Regions from separate parts of the Homo sapiens genome. Here regions 2 and 3 are each linked to region 1. Evidence: promoter capture Hi-C in 16 types of primary human blood cells and fetal thymus (Javierre and others, 2016). All regions are on one chromosome and are shown on one strand. The core of a region is centred on a gene start or on the middle of the fragment in contact, and the rest is flanking DNA. Distances in the headings are between cores, read along the strand shown.

Region 1 (2,918 bases), core at 264-2,763:
TTTCTCTGGGAAGCCTTCTCCCTGAGCCTCCCATGCCCCTTCCTTCAATTGGGCTATATCCCCCCTCTCTAGACTCCTACAGAGCCTTCTCCCCCAATACAATAGAATCTTTGTGAGGTCAGATATAGTGTCTTCTCAATTGTATCCCCAGGTTTAACATATCACCTGACACACTGTAGGTGCTTAATAAGAGCTTATGGAATGAATGAAGTGCTATTGCAGAGATAAGCATAAAGCGGTATGTGAGTACAAAGGAAGGGAATCTAAATTGGAGTGGAGGTCTGGGAAAGGCCTCCTGGAAGAGGTGACACTTGAGGCTGACCTGAAGGACAAGTCGGTTAGATGTTTCAAGTGGTGAGAACGGTAGCATGAATGCTCAGCAGTGGGAACGCGGATGGTGCCTTTGAGTAATGGCCAATGACTGTATGGCTGCAGCTAGGGTCGGGGGGAATGGAATGGCAGGGAATCAAGCTAACTGACAGGTAGTTGAGGGATGGATTATGAAAAAGTGAAAGCCCGCTTTTCATTTCAGGCTTGGATTTTGTGTTTATTTACTTATTTATTTATGAGAAAGGGTCTCACTCTGTTGCCCAGGCTGGCACGATATCGGCTCACTGCAACCTCCCGAGTTCAAGTGATTCTCCCACCTCAGCCTCTCGAGTAGCTGGGATTACAGGTTTGCGCCACCACGCCCAGCTAATTTTTGTATTTGTATTTGTAATTTTTTTGAGACGGATCTCGCTCTGTCACCTAGGCTGGAGTGCAGTGGTCCAATCTCGGCTCACTGCAACCTCCGCCTCCCAGGTTCAAGCAATACTCCTGCCTCAGCCAACTGAGTAGCTGGGATTACAGGCCCCTGCCACCATGCCCGGCTAATTTTTGTATTTTTAGTAGAGACGGGGTTTCACCATGTTGGCCGGGCTGGTATCGAACTCCTGACCTCAGGTGATCCGCCGGCCTCGGCCTCCCAAAGTGCTGGGATTAAAGGGGTGAGCCACCCCGCCCGATAGGCTTGGACTTTGTTAAAGGCATACAGAATAACACGAAGTGGTGAGATGCAGAAAAAAGTAGTAATTTAAGAAAACTTGGCTTGCCACGTTGGTTCCTCTAGGGACCAGCCCTGCAACTCCGGGCAAGTCCTATCCCCTCTGACCAGAGGCAAAGTGAAACAGTGATGACATCTACCTCTAGCAGTGCTGTGACGATTAAATGCGATCTTAGGCAAAGCGCCTGGTATGTGCCGTTACTCGAAAAAATGACAGTTGTCCCTCTTCGCTCTGGCCCCATCCTCCTCATCTGCAAATGCCGGGAGGCCGGGCCACTCTCGCAGGTCGCTCCCGGAGCCAGCTGAGCAGTGGGAGGGGAAGCGGTGGGACAGAAGGGCGCCAGCCAGTCGTCCGGGCACCGTGGCTGGTTCGGCTGCCGCTCAGCCGCGCGGGGGCGCTCTAGACTGCTCCTCGTGCTCTATGGTGTTGCCTTCGCCCCGGAAGTAGTTGCGCAGCTGGGGTTGGTAAGGTCGGGCCATGGTGGGGCAGAGGTTGGGAAGATGGCGTGGCGAGGCTGGGCGCAGAGAGGCTGGGGCTGCGGCCAGGCGTGGGGTGCGTCGGTGGGCGGCCGCAGCTGCGAGGAGCTCACTGCGGTCCTAACCCCGCCGCAGCTCCTCGGACGCAGGTAATAGCCGCCGCGCTCTGGTCTTCTCGCCTCTTGGTCCCTGAGCTCTGGCCGTGTATCCTCGGGGGCGGAGGCCGTCTGGGCCTCTTGTGCTGGCCCCAGCTCACCCCCTTCACCTTACCTGCCCCTTCTCTCTCCTCTCTCGCCTCCGTCCAGTCCTCGCTTCTCGCTCCCCTTGCCCAGCCCAGCCCCCCGCGAGCCTGCGCTTTCTCCTTTCCCATTGGGAAGGACGTGACTGGAAGGGGAACTAAGCTGAGGGTTCATTGCGTGCCACACTTCATAATCGCGAGTGGAAACTGTTGAGCCAGTTTCTGAAGTGAAGAAGTTAGTACAGCTGGCAGAATGGCGGTTTTTATTCTTTTTCCATCTAATTATAAAGGTTGTGTTCCATTACAACCAGTCGCCTTCTTTAGCTTGTGATCTAAGGGAGGACGAAGTCTGATGGAAGGTATCACTTTGTGTCTGGCAAAGTCGTAGGAGAGGCTTTATTGTTGAATTGAGACAGTGGAAGATTTCGTTTCCGGTTGATTTGGAAAGAAAACTGCCGAACCTTCCGAGTAGAAGTGTGAAGCGTATGGTTGATCAGTATTGCTGATTTTTGCATCACAGTAATTCATTTCTAATTTGAGAGAGAAGAGAGAAATTCCTCACCTGTTTAAGAATCTGATGTGCATTTGGCTTTGAAAATTTTCCTCCTCTTTTGTTCAAAACTTCATTCCTTCCAATTTCTGACTTGGTTAGATGGGTGCCTCGAATCCACCTGATTGCTGATAAGAAACATTGTTTATCAACACGTGGGATAGTCAGTGGTAAATAATCGAGGCTCTAATGTGGCGGAGCCATTGCCTAATCTCAAGGATCACCTGAAGAGTTTGTATGGATTTTATGTCCCAGGCCTCACCCCAGTCCTCCCAAATCACAATCAGGAGAGGGGTGGGTGGAGTGGAAGAACCTATATGTCCGACAAGCATTCCAGGTGAATTTTATCAGGGACTTGTGAAAACTTTACATACATTGTATCTTCATACACTAACATAGATCTGTCAGGCACTAATCTTAAACTCCTGGGGAGGTGGAAAATGAGGACAGATGGAGGTGGTAATCCCATTTGAGATTGCATGGTTTAAGGGGGAAAGAAAAGATTAATACTGGCCGGGCGTGGTGGCTCACACGCCTGTAATCCTAGCACTTTGGGAGGCTGAGGCAGGTGGATCACCTGAAGTTAGGAGTTCAAGACCAGCCTGGCC
Region 2 (2,918 bases), core at 190-2,689, 320 kb before region 1:
ACAAGTAAGTAGCCAATCTGATGCCCTGTCACTCTTGAATACTTCAGTATATTTCATGCAAACATTCTCCTACATAACCACAGCACAACCATCAAAATCAAGACATTAACCTAGATATATCTCTACCATCAAATCCTCAAACTTCATTCCAGTTTTGTTTAGTGTCTCAATAAATTAAATTTAAAAAAATTGGCTGGGCGCAGTGGCTCATGCCTGTAATTCCAGTACTTTGGGAGGCCGAGGTGGGCAGATCACGAGGTCAAGAGATTGAGACCATCCTGGCCAACATGATGAAACCCCATCTCTACTAAAAATACAAAAATTAGCTGGGCATGGTGGCGGGTGCCTGTAGTCCCAGCTACTTGGGAGGCTGAGGCAGGAGAATCACTTGAGCCTGGGAGTCGGAGGTTGCAGTGAGCTGAGATCGCACCACTCCACTTCAGCCTGACGACAGAGCGAGACTAAAAAACAAAACAAAACAAAACAAAACAAAACAAATTGGCTGGGCCTGGGATTACACTCCTATAATCCCAACACTTTACACTTTGAGAGGCGGAGGCTGGCGGATCACCTGAGGTCAGGAGTTCAAGACCAGCCTGGCCAACATGGTGAAACCCTGTCTCTACTAAAAATGCAAAAATTAGCTGAGCATGGTGGTGCTTGAACCTGGGAGGTGGAGGTTGCAATGAGCTGAGATCTCACGATTGCACTTCAGCCTGGGTGACAGAGTGAGACTCTGTCTTAAAAAAAAAAAAAAATTCCTGGCTGGGCATTGTATCTCTCGCCTGTAATCCCAGCGCTCTGAGGCCAAAGTGGGAGGATCGCTTGAAGCCAGAAGTTCACGACCAGCCTGCACAGCAAACCATGACCTCCCACCATGCCTACAAAAATAAAATTAGCCCAGCACAGTGGTGAGTGCCAGTAGCCCTAGCTATTTGGGAGGCTGAGCTGGGAGGATTGCTTCAGCCCAAAAGTTTGAGGCTGCAGTGAGCTATAATTTCATGACTGAACTCCAGCCAGGGCAACAGAGTGAGACCCTGTCTCTTAAAAAACAAAAAAAGCCAGTGTAGATTACATGCTACATTTTGTTATATTTCTTTAATCTCTTCTTCACTCCAGAACAATTTATCTGTCTTTTCTTGACCTTGACATTTTGAAAGAGTACAGGATGTTTATTTTGTAGACCGTCCCTCAGTTTGGGCTTAGATTCAGGTTATGCAACTTTGGCAAGAATATCACAGAAGCAATGCTGTGTTCTTCTGACTGCCTCCTATCGGGTGGCACAAGATGCTGATTTATCCCGTTATTCATGATGTTCACTCGATTACTTGATTAAAGCGGTGTCTGCCAGGCTCCTTCATTGCAAAGTGACTCTTCCCCGCCCCCATAGTGAATTAATGTTTGGGGTGGAGATATGTTCAACATATGTATCTCATTTCTCATTAAATTTTTACTGTATTAATGTATTTATATATATCAGTATGAACCTGTGGTTTTCTACTTTATTCAGGGGTTATAATTCATTGCTATCATTATATACACATACATATATGTGTATATATACATATATACACATATATACGTATATATACATATATACACATATATATGTATATATACTTACATATATACATATATTGTATATATACATACATATATACACATATATGTATATATATACACACATATATATACACATACATATATACACACATATATATACATACATATATATACACATACATATATATATACATACATATATATATATATATATTTTTTTTTTTTTTTTTTTTTTTTTTGAGACAGAGCTTCACTCTGTTGCCTGGGCTGGAGTGCAGTGGCCCCATCTTGGCTCACTGCAAACTCCGCCTCCCAGGGTCAAATAGTTCTCCTGCCTTAGCCACTCAAGTAGCTGGGACTACTGGTGCACACCACCACGCCTGGCTAATTTTTGTATTTTTAGTAGAGACGGGGTTTCACCATGTCGGCCAGGCTGGTCTCAAACTCCTGACTTCAAGTGATCCGCCCACCTCGTCCTCCCAAAGTGCAGGGATTATAGGCATGAGCCACTACCCTCAGACTTATCATTATTTATGCTGATGCTCAAACAGTCCCTAATTTGAAGTGGGAGCACCTCGAGCTGACTTTTTTGTCTTTTTTTCTTTTCTTTTCTTTTCTTTTTTTTTTTTTTTGAGACAGGGAGTGCGGTGGCCCAATCAGAGCTCATTGCTGCCTCGAGCTCCCAGGCTCAATTGATCCTCCTACCTCAGTCTCCTGAGTAGCCAGGACTATAGGTGCACACCACCACAGCAGCTATTTTTTTTTTTTTTTTTTTTTTTTTTTTTTTGGTGACAGTTTCACTCTTGTTCCCCAGGCTGGAGTGCAATGGTGCGATCTTGGCTCACTGCAACCTCCGCCTCCCAGGTTCAAGCTATTCTCCCGCCTCAGCCTCCTGAGTAGCTGGGATTACAGGCATGCACCACCATGCCTGGCTAATTTTGTGTTTTTAGTAGAGACGGGGTTTCTTCATGTTGTTCAGCCTGGTCTCGAACTCCCGACCTCAGGTGATTCACCTGCCTCAGCCTCCCAAAGTGCTGGGATTACAGGCGTGAGCCACTGCACCCAGCCCACCAGCTAATTTTTGTATTTTTTGCAGAGACAGGGGTCTCAAACTCTTGGGCTCAAGAGATCTGCCCACCTTCGCCTCCCAAGGTGCTGGGATTATAGGCAAGAGCCACTGTGCCAGCCCTGTATCCTTTTTAGATGTCTCCATCATTGTTTCAGTGCTTCTTTGCTTTCTAGTATAAGAGTCCTAGACTCATCCTGTAATTTCTGTCTCAGGCTTTTCACCAGGGAGCCCTGGTACCTTATAGTAGAGAATGGTATTTAGCCAAGATCTGGGGCCGGGTGTGGTG
Region 3 (2,918 bases), core at 219-2,718, 300 kb before region 1:
TGTCTAAGGGTCCAAACACATCGACTTCACTCTCGGGTGTAGGCTCAGAAAGGAACCCCAAGAGAGAACATCTCGAGTAAACCCTCTTAACTTACCCATGATGAACAGACTCAAAGGCTCAGGAAAAGACATAGTCAGAAATCCCCCCAAAAGATACTCCAATTAGACAGTCAACTCCCAACCCCATCACAGACAGTCCCCTCCCTTGCTTCCTCCTCCTCACCGAGGACTGTTCCCTCTTTAGCAGTCCTGGAAGTTTGGTTCCACAGTCTGTAAGCGATAAGAAAAGCAGTCACCTTCTCCCTGAGGGAAGGGAAACTAACATTTTGAGTGACTAATAGGAACCAGGCACAGACACAGATGTTTTCTACAAAACCTTATAATACTGCAGATAGATGGCTATTATCTTCCCTGCACTAAAAACAAAACAAAACAAAACAAAACAAAACTCACGTAGAAGGATACAGAGGCATAGACAAGGCTGGGGACAGATAACCAACTCTTACAAGATCATGCAGCTGGTTAGCAAGTTGCAAAACTGGGGGTGAAAGCAAGTCTGTCCAGCTCCAGGCTCTTATGCTTCCTATCCTACCCAAGAGCTTGGAGGGAGAACCCTCCAACCTCCTCCCCACCCCCATCATGGGCTCTTCTGCCCTCGGTAAAGACATCAACTAGCTCCTACAACCTTGTCCTGTGGAAAAGACGTAGGAGCCCTAAGCTGCAGGCAGCAGATGGTTGGGGGCGGAGAAAAGCACAGGGGGGCAGTTAGTTCAACCTCCCCTCACTCTCACCGTAGTTCTCCGTTATCTTTGACAACTGGATAGGGGCGTCCAGTAGCACCTGGCTATTTCCCTGGCTTTGTGGCTCAGCCCTATGTGGGTAGGGATAGAAAGCGCAGAGTTAGGAGTTGAGGGAAAAGCTCTATGGCCATCAGATCTTCCTCCCCCACCTCTTGTCTCCGGACCGTTCGCCGTCCCTTCGCCCCCATCAACCCCTACTCCCTGGCACATACAGACGCAGAGTGTTGTACATGCGCTGGCACACGGCCCTGATGCCCGCGTCATCCTTGCTGTCCCCGGACACCTCTTGCAATAGTTCCCCTACAGCTTCCACCAGGTCATCCACAGACTCGAAGTCCGCGCTGCCGCTGTGCAAGACGCCTGGGCAGGGCGTGGTAGAACGAGGAAGGTATCGGGTAGGGTGGACACACAAGCAGTTTCAGACCCCAGACAGAGGCCCCAGTCCAGGCTCCAGACCCAACCAGCCCCCGGGACAAGAGGTCATGCAGAGGAGAGGCCTGGCAACAGTCCCGGGCACGACGCTCGCTTAGACTTTCCCCCGGCCTCCACTTCGGTCTCCCCAGCCGGCCGATTCAGTTCTGCTTACCGGTCACGTAGTCGAAGACTTGTCCGTCAATTTCGGGGAACTCGCTCCGCAGGATTTCGGCGCAAGTCGCCATGTTCCACTCAGGAACCCGTCCGCGCAGTCGCTGTGAGACCCCGGCCTAGGCCCGCCCCCCGCCCTGCCCCCGAAATCTCGCCCTTCCTTGCAAGGCGCATGTGTAGCGGTGACGCAGGAAAGGAGCGGAGTGCGCAGAGCCCGGTGGGCGGGGCGAGCGGGGCCTTGAGGAGAGGCGCCGAGTCTGCGCCGGAGCCGCGCTCTCTGCGCGTGCGCGACACCTTTTCCGCTGAAAGATTAGCCACATGTGCGGTTCTCGCTGCCTTCTGGGAGGTGGAGTTCCGGGAGCGAGGGGTGGGGCAAAGGCTGGGAGCTCAAGGTTTATCGGGGCCGCGAGGCACCCGTGGTCTGGCGGGTGGGAGCCTCCCAAGAGGCAGGCGGCTGATAAAGCACTTTGGCTTTGCCAGGTTTTATGCGCTCCCTCGAGGCGCGTCTGCTGCTGGTGCGTACCCAGTCAGGCCCATTTTGGAGCCTGCCCAGAGCTTTGCTGACTCACCCCGGTCCCTGACTCTCAGAAGCCCCCTGCTCAGTGCTTTGCTTTCGCGGGTCCCCAGACCCTACGGGCTTCTCAGCCTGGTGGCCAGCGCCACCCGCCTCCCCGCCGCGACCGCCTTTTCACTGTGTAATTCAGCCGACCTTTGTGAATTAAGCCCATTCAGTTCTTCCACCACCCCAGGGCACGACCAAATCCACCGCCAAAGGGCAAGAAAACCAGGACAACGTGGCCTGTATAAATTATTCCCTACCTACACCCTGAGCAGACTTCTCTGCACTCAATAAATGCCAATAAAAGGCTATTTCCTTTCACCGATTCCCTCGGGAAGTTAGGAATTTCCTCCAAAATGATGCTACTGCTTTATATTTAACGTGAATATTCCTCCAATTGGTCTCTAAAAGTGGCACCGAAAATTACATTATTACCCATTCATCCCTTTGGATTAAACATTGCCATCATGAGGCATCAATCCCGATATTGAACCATTTTACAGGAAATACAGGTAAAGAGGAATATGTTAAGTGACTTCATGGGGACAACAGGCAAATTCTGATGTGGTAAACTACAGAACTCTGGTTTCTTCCACAAAATTGCAAGACCTGAAGGGAAACATCAATTTTTAAAATTTGAGGAGCATTAACCAACCACAATGGACCTTATCTGGAAAAATTTGATAAGACACCTGGTTAAGTGAACACAAACTGGATGTGATATTAAGGAACTGGCCACGCATTGATCATAGTTGAAGCTGGGTGATGAGACATGGAGATTCATTATATTCTTTTTTTTTTTTTTTTTAATTTGAGAAGGAGTTTCGCTCTTGTTGCCCAGGCTGGAGTACAGTGGCGTGATCTTGGCTCACCGCAGCCTCCACCTCCTGGGTTCGAGCGATTCTCCTGCCTCAGCCCCCGAATAGCTGGGATTACCGGCATGCACCACCACGCCCGGCTAATTTTGTAATTTT

What was found. Contacts are between HindIII fragments. The CHiCAGO score rates a contact against its expected background, and 5 or more counts as called.
Region 2: a fragment that was not itself captured here is called in contact with the fragment with the promoter of PARL in region 1 in 1 of 17 cell types (M2 macrophages); the score reaches 5.4 in M2 macrophages.
Region 3: the fragment with the promoter of ABCF3 here is called in contact with the fragment with the promoter of PARL in region 1 in 17 of 17 cell types (total B cells, M1 macrophages, naive CD8 T cells and 14 more); the score reaches 25.3 in total B cells.

What each region holds. Positions count from the first base shown.
Region 1 is chr3:183,883,475-183,886,392 of GRCh38, reverse strand. PARL (presenilin associated rhomboid like) reads left to right here and starts at 1,513. Exons shown (of 10, transcript NM_018622.7): 1 at 1,513-1,671. The coding sequence starts at 1,547. RefSeq lists enhancers at 1,064-1,293, 1,334-1,383 and silencers at 1,333-1,483, 1,594-1,753. The HindIII fragment of the contact is 9,960 bases long and covers 1-2,918 here.
Region 2 is chr3:184,207,643-184,210,560 of GRCh38, reverse strand. No RefSeq gene overlaps it. Among named protein-coding and RNA genes, the nearest start is that of VWA5B2, 20 kb to the left of the region's middle. The HindIII fragment of the contact is 5,192 bases long and covers 1-2,918 here.
Region 3 is chr3:184,184,749-184,187,666 of GRCh38, reverse strand. It overlaps ABCF3 (ATP binding cassette subfamily F member 3), which reads right to left and starts at 1,468. Exons shown (of 21, transcript NM_018358.3): 1 at 1,387-1,468; 2 at 1,013-1,160; 3 at 792-871; 4 at 224-270; 5 at 1-3. The coding sequence starts at 1,459. RefSeq lists enhancers at 1,164-1,483, 1,961-2,675. The HindIII fragment of the contact is 6,180 bases long and covers 1-2,918 here.